2 separate regions of the Homo sapiens genome follow, and region 2 is linked to region 1. The links are contacts of gene promoters, found by promoter capture Hi-C in blood cells and fetal thymus (Javierre and others, 2016). All regions are on one chromosome and are shown on one strand. Each heading gives the region's core, a stretch centred on a gene start or on the middle of the fragment in contact. The rest is flanking DNA. Distances are from core to core; before and after follow the strand shown. Region 1 holds the start of POU2F1 (POU class 2 homeobox 1). Region 2 overlaps UCK2 (uridine-cytidine kinase 2).

The links. The method cuts DNA at HindIII sites, captures the fragments that hold promoters and counts their contacts. A CHiCAGO score of 5 or more calls a contact.
Region 2: a fragment that was not itself captured here is called in contact with the fragment with the promoter of POU2F1 in region 1 in 1 of 17 cell types (erythroblasts); the score reaches 5.1 in erythroblasts.

The regions. Positions count from the first base shown.
Region 1 is chr1:167,219,192-167,222,528 of GRCh38, forward strand. POU2F1 (POU class 2 homeobox 1) reads left to right here and starts at 1,695. Exons shown (of 16, transcript NM_002697.4): 1 at 1,695-1,767. The coding sequence starts at 1,707. POU2F1-DT (POU2F1 divergent transcript) reads right to left here and starts at 1,345. Exons shown (of 1, transcript NR_185889.1): 1 at 640-1,345. RefSeq lists enhancers at 1,278-1,387, 2,918-3,097 and silencers at 1,568-1,667, 2,018-2,167, 2,388-2,667, 2,678-2,857. The HindIII fragment of the contact is 11,517 bases long and covers 1-3,337 here.
Region 2 is chr1:165,843,254-165,846,590 of GRCh38, forward strand. The region is part of intron 1 of UCK2 (uridine-cytidine kinase 2); the gene reads left to right. Among named protein-coding and RNA genes, the nearest start is that of UCK2, 17 kb to the left of the region's middle. The HindIII fragment of the contact is 527 bases long and covers 1,599-2,125 here.

The DNA.
Region 1 (3,337 bases), core at 445-2,944:
TGGTGAAAATAACTTAGGCCATATTTCCAGATTAACTAGTTAAATATTTCATTTCCTTAAGTGTGCTGGTTGGCGTGGCTCTAAATAATTAGATTACAGGGCGGTCTAATTATTTGGTTCAAACAGTCATGCACACACCCTAAGGCTTAATTACCACGAACAAATCAATCCCACCCCCAAATCGTTGCCTGTCACTGACAATAGCTTTAACTGTACTTGCACAGTTAAAGGAGTCCAACGAGCATTCTAGGACTGATGATTAAAACTTTACCCATTAAAATAATTGCACTCACTTGGAAATCAGTTTTGTTTTTAATTGTAGAACCAGCAGTTCTACCCAATTTAAACTTCAGTCATATCTCTCAAGACAGATTAACTAGAGCTGATTTTTTTTAAACTTTGCTTACCATGAAATACACCTTTCTATTCTTAAAAAACAAACAAACAAACAAAAATAGGGCTTTAAAAATTCGTAAAATAATTAGACCTGGGACTTTGTCCAGGGAATTTCGCCATTTAAGATAAAGAAAACTCAGCAACATTATGTCTAGTTACCAAGAAAGATATGTGCAACGCGAAACCTTTCCCCAATACCATATTTACTCTGAGAAACACAGCAAAATAAAATTCACGATGAAGTTACGATTTCGACATTTTTATTAGTCATCAGCTTACTGCTAGGTTTTAAAAGGTGTTCCAAGGCGGGAAGAAGGCGCGGGGGGAAGCCTCAGAATATGGGGTCTGTTTCGATTGGGGGGAGCGGCGTTAGAGGGGCGTGAAGGCAGAAAGGAAGGGTAGGGCGGAAATTAGCGACTTAATAAGACGCCTAGCTCCCGAGGAAGCCAGCCTGGCGTTAGAAGCAAGTAGAGCAGAAGAGATTTAGGGCTAATTAAAACAATCACACGACACTCCCCCTCGCGTTTGCCGGGGCCGGGTCTCCTGCACTAGCAGAGCCGGGGGCGGGGATTAGCTCGGATTCAAATTTAAAGCGGGAGGCCCGCGTGTGGCTCAGCAGGTGCCTCATGCCCGGCTCCCGTGGCGGTCGTTTCCGCCCCTACCTGCCCAGAGGGCCGGAAATTACCTAGCGAGGAGCGGCTTATCCATTGTTGCCAATGTTTCAACTGCGCGGAAACCCTGAAGAAAGTGCGGAGCACAGGGCACGCGGGCCGCTCACTGCCCTTCCACGCGCCCCCACGTTTCTGGCCGCTGCGCTCCTTGCCGTGCTTTTACAATGCCACAGGCCACTGGGGGAGACCGGAGCGAAGCCAGGAGGGAAGCAAGGCGGGAGGAAAAGGGAGAAGTGTAAGAAGACACAGGCGCCCGGGATACTATATAATCTGGTTCTGAGCTAGAGGGAGCGCATGCGCCGGCGACACTTCTGGCGGCAGGAGAAAGGCGCGCATGCGCAGAGCCGAGACGAAAAATGAAGCCACAGGGTGCCTGGCTGATTGAGGGCGCTGCTTTAGCTACCGAAGGGCCACAGCGCCCCGAAGGCGCGTGCGCAGAGCGCGGGAAGGGGGTGGAGCTCTTCTGAGGGGGCCGGGGCGAACAGAGCCGGCCTCGCGCGCCCCCTGGCGCGCGCCCGGGGAGAGGAAGGAGCGGGAGGGGGCGGAGAGGAGGGAGGAGGCAAGCAGGGCGGGAGGGGGGAGGGGAGCCAGAGCGAGGGAGGGTTTATCGACCGGGCGATTTTGGTTAAAATATTCAAAATGGCGGACGGAGGAGCAGCGAGTCAAGATGAGAGTTCAGCCGCGGCGGCAGCAGCAGCAGGTAATCATTACAGCATTTTACATATTCATATTCATACTCAACCCCGGCTCCCGCTGCCCCCCCCCGCGACTTAGCATAATTTATTAGTACTCAGGATTATTATAATTAACGGCGGGGAGATGGGGGGCCGGGGAGCATTGAGCCCCCGCCGGGCGCTGAGCGGAGGGGGAAAGAGGCTCGGAGCGGCCAGGCGGAGGGGGAAGACAAGGGGCAAAGGGGGCTGCGATCCACTGCCCTCCTCCTGCACCCGGCCCACCCCGCCGCCGCTCGCCGTCTGCCCGTCGGCACCGGCCCTCCTCCTCTGCCGGCCGCCGCTGCCGCCTCCTCGCCGCCGTGCCCGAACCCGAGCGGGTCCGCGGCGGGGCGGCGGGGCCGGGGCAGAGGGAGAGGACAATAAAGACATTTTACATATTCATAGCTGCTGGGCCGGCGGGGCGCAGTAGGGCGCGGGCGGGCGGCCGGGGCCGGGCGGGCGCGGGGTGGGGGGCGTGAAGGGGGATGGAGGCGGCGGCGAGCACAATGCCGGGGAGGCGGCGGGGCCGGAGCGGACCCCGGCGGCCGGACACCCGCACGCGTCTTCCCCCGGGAGCGGGCCCGGGCGGGGGGGCGCTGCCCGCCTTGGGGGGCGGCCCTCAGGGCAACCGGGGGTGCGCGCGGGGAGAGCTCCCTGCCCGCGCCCCGCGCGGGGCTGAGCCCGGGGGTCACGGCCCCAGGCACTTCGGCCTCGCCCCACTGGTCCCCAATGTGGTGGCCTGACCCAAGCCAGGCCTGCTCTCTAGGTGGGTAGGGGTGAGCGGTCGTGGGCGCTGCGAGGTGGCCTGGGGCGGCGGGGGTGGGGAACCCGCGCAGGGGTCTGCGTGCCCCCCCTGGGGGGTGGACTGGATTGGAAGGAGTCCTTGGGGCAAGTTCCTTCCGAGGGGATGTCCTCTGGGGCGGCCCGCGCGCCCCCGGCCGGCGGTCGGCAGCCCCTTTGCGTTGTCGGCCGGGGCTTCGCGGGCGAGTTGGGCTGGAGGTGCCTGGCGTGGTCTGACCTCCGTCTCCCTTTGCCCCTCCCCGCTGCCCCCCCTCCGTTCCCCCCACCCCCTGCGCCTGACCGGGACGCACGGGGCGGGTGGCCCTCCGGGGCCTCTCGCTCCGAGGCCCCAGAAGCGCCCAGAGGCCTCCCGAGAACTTGGATGTAAAGGGCTGCCCTCCTGCCCCAGAATGGGCTGGCCTGACAAGTTGATCGTATTCTCGATTTCCTCTCTCCTGTTGGGAGTCGGTGGGGAGGGACGGGGATCCCCCTCCCTTCTTCTGTGGCGGTGTTTTCTCGCTGTGTGCTGGGTCGTCTTTACTCTCTGCTTAGCTGAACCTCTTCTCATTTGAATAATGTCTAATTCGGGGAGGTTTATATTATTGAAATGGCCGCCTGGCTTTCCCCGCCTCTCATGTTTAGTAATTCAGACCTTTAATAACAGCCACTCACAGCCCAACGCCGTGTTTATATTTTACATTCGCCCCATGTGCTTTTGTGGTTCGATATGATTTTTTTTTTCCTTGGCAATCCGCAGGGCTCTGAGATCAAACCCAG
Region 2 (3,337 bases), core at 612-3,111, 1.4 Mb before region 1:
GATTACCTGGGAGTTCATCTGGGTCTTTTTTGTTTCTCATTCTCATGTCAGAATTTAAGATTTGAAAACTGAATTTCACATGTATAGTTTTGGGAAAAGTCATCTTTAAATGAACCCTACATTTATGGCAAAAATTAGGGACAGGACTGAGTTTCAAGAAGTCGTTAGGCCACAGGTTTTTTGAGGGATGGCACAGGCTTTTAACTTACTAAAAAGGACAACTTTTGGCTGGGATTGATGACTCAATGCCTGATGACTCAATGCCTGTAATCCCAGCACTTTGGGAGGTCAAGGCAGGAGGATCACTTGAGGCCAGGAGTTTGATACCAGCCTGTCAACATAGTAGAACCCCCCATCTCTACAAAAAATAAGTAATGAGCCAGGTGCAGTGGCATGCACCTGTAGTAGGAGCTACTCAAGAGGCTGAGGTAGGAGGATCTGTGGAGGCCAGGAGTTTGAGGGTGACAGATGGAGAGACCCTGTCTCTAAAAAACAGGAGAACAACCTTTATCATACTTTGCCACTTTTTATTCTTAATCAGAAGTAACACATGTTCTTGTAAAATGTTGATTTAATACTAATGGAGTGCCTACTGCAACTCTCTTGATTCCACTGCCTTATTTTTTTCTTATATCACTAATACCATTTGAAATAATTTTGCACGTGTTTATTGTTTATCTCTTTTCAATGTATTTCTTTTGGTAATAGCTAATACTTCCCGAGCACTAACTATATACTGAGTGCTATTCTAAGTGTTTTATTTGTATTAATGCCTTTATTTCCTCTCACAGCCCTTTCAGGTAAGGTACTATAATTATCCCCAATTTCAACATGGGAAGACTGTAGCACCAAGGAGTTAAGTACCCACTGTGTATAGAGTGCCAGGTGGGGCTGGCATTTAAACTCTTGGCTTCAGAGTCCAAAAAACCTACTCTGCTCTATTGAGTCTCAGTGCAAGCCTGAAAGGGCACGTATGCCTTCTCCTGCAGTGCCTGCACCTAGAACGGCTCCCTCCTCGTAGTTGACATTCAGTGTGGATGAACACGAGGTATTCCAAGTAAGAAGTAAAAATAAAATCCTTCAGCACCTGTGGTACTGTGATATAATAAGAAATATGTGTTTGGTCTCTGCCCCCTCATTCCTGGCACAGAGCTCCTAAAACCCTGTGGATAGGGGCACTAGGAGAACCTCTTGTTCTAATATGTTCCTGACACAGAGCACCCTCAAACCTTTGTAATTTCCTGGGTGATAACAGAGCTCCTAAATCCCTTAGAATTTCCCAGGTGATAGGAGCATCTTTTGTTCTAACAAGATAACTGTGGTGGGCTCCTGGATAGCCAGGATGGTGGCTGGTTGCTAAGGGAACGAACCGCGTGATTACGGTGTTAGAACTTTCAGCCCCATGCCCCTGACCTCTGGGGAGGTGAGAGGGAGAGGGGGGCTGAAGGTCGAGCTGATCACTAATGACAGCATTGTGATCAATGATGCGTATGTAACGAAGTTTTCATAAAAACCCAAAAGGACAGTGTTTGAATGAGCATCCAGATAGCAGAACAGGTGGGGGTTCCTGGAGGGTGACTGCCTCGAGAGGGTGTGGAAGCTTTGCACCCTTCCCACATGCCTCACCCTTTGCGTCTTTTTAATCTGGCTGTTCCTGTGTTTCCTTTATAATCTTTATAATAAATTGTTCCCTTTATAATAAATGGGTAAACATAAGTAAGTGTTTCTTTGAGCTCAGTGAGCCAAGCTAGCAAATTAATCGAACCTGAGGAGGGGTCATGAGAACCCTGATTTAAAAACCTCTGTCAGAAGCACAGGTCACAACCTGGGACCTGCCATTGGCATCTGAAGTATGGGGCAGTCTTGGGGACTGAGCCCTCAGCCTGTGGGATCTGGCGCTCTCTCCAGGTAGATCGTGTCAGAATTGAATTACAGGACATCCAGCTGGTGTCTGCTGATGAATTGATTGGTTGCTGGTGGGGAGAAATCGCCATACGTTTTGGTGACCAGAGGTGAAATATTCTGTGCACGGTAGAGGGTAGGAAAGGCACTTTGGTTTTTTTCCTACATCTTCTTGGCGCACTCTTCCTCAGAGGTTAGTTGCTGTAATTTGTTTTCCTCATAAAGCTTTTCCTTTTCAATTACAAATATATATTTATGCACAGATGTAGTACTTATAAAATGAATGTTACCTCTCTTGGGAAACAGACTTTTTTTCTTCGCAACTCTTTGGAGAGCATGTCCCTTGAGGTGTGACATTATTTTAGCTGTGTAACAATTAACTGGATCTGAGTTGTTTTACATCAGCTAAATATCAGTCTCCTTGAGATTTGGGAAATATTTAAGTCTCATCAGCAGTATTTTGGGGAAGGGGGTGCTCCTGCAGACAGCAGCTGCTGTTTTCTGTTTGTTTGTTCATTGATTGATTGATTGAGACACAGTCTCGCTCTGTTGCCCAGACTGGAGTGCAGTGGCATGATCACTGCTCACTGCAGCCTCAACTTGCTGGACCCAAACAATCCTCCTGCCTCAGCCTCCTGAGTAGCTGGTACTATAGGAGTGTGCCACCATGCCCAGCTAATTTTAAAATTCTTTTTAGAGATGGAGTCTCACTTTTTTGCCCAGGCTGATATCTAACTCTGTACTCCAGTGATCCTCCTGCCTCGGCCTCCGAAAGTGTTGGGGTTACAGGTATGAGCCACTGTGCCCAGCATTCTGTGCGTTCTCACTGGCTGTCATGCCCTGCAAAGAAAGTTGACCAGGTGCAGTGGCTCATGCTTGTAATTCCAGTGCTTTGGGAGGCCGAGGTGGGATGATCACTTGAGCCCAGGAGTTCCAGACCAGCCTGAGCAACACAGTGAGATCTTGTCTCTACAGAAAATTAAAAAAGAAAGTAAAAAAAATTAGCTGAGTGTGGCACCTGTGGCCTAGCTAGCTACTCTAGAGACTGAGGTGGGAGGATCACTTGAGCCCAGTAGTTTGAGGTTACAGTGAGCTATGATTGTGCCACTGTGCTCCAACATTGGCAGTAGAGTGAGACTTTGTCTCTAAAAAACCACAACATTTTAAAATTTATTTAATGTCCCTGGATTCCTACAGGTATTGAATTCCTATGGGTATGGGATTTTGACTGTGGTCTTTTCCTAGTTTCTATAACTGTGCTGATAAGAAAAAAGAGACTGCCCTTTTTTTTAAACAAAACAAAACAAAACAAAACATCTGGAAGTTGGTCAAGTCTTATCTTTCCTTCTGTTTCTCTCTGGTGGTAGCAGACAGTTTACCTGTAGGTCAAGAGTTTTTAGATTAGCCTGGGATCCATGGATAGGAGTCAGAAGGG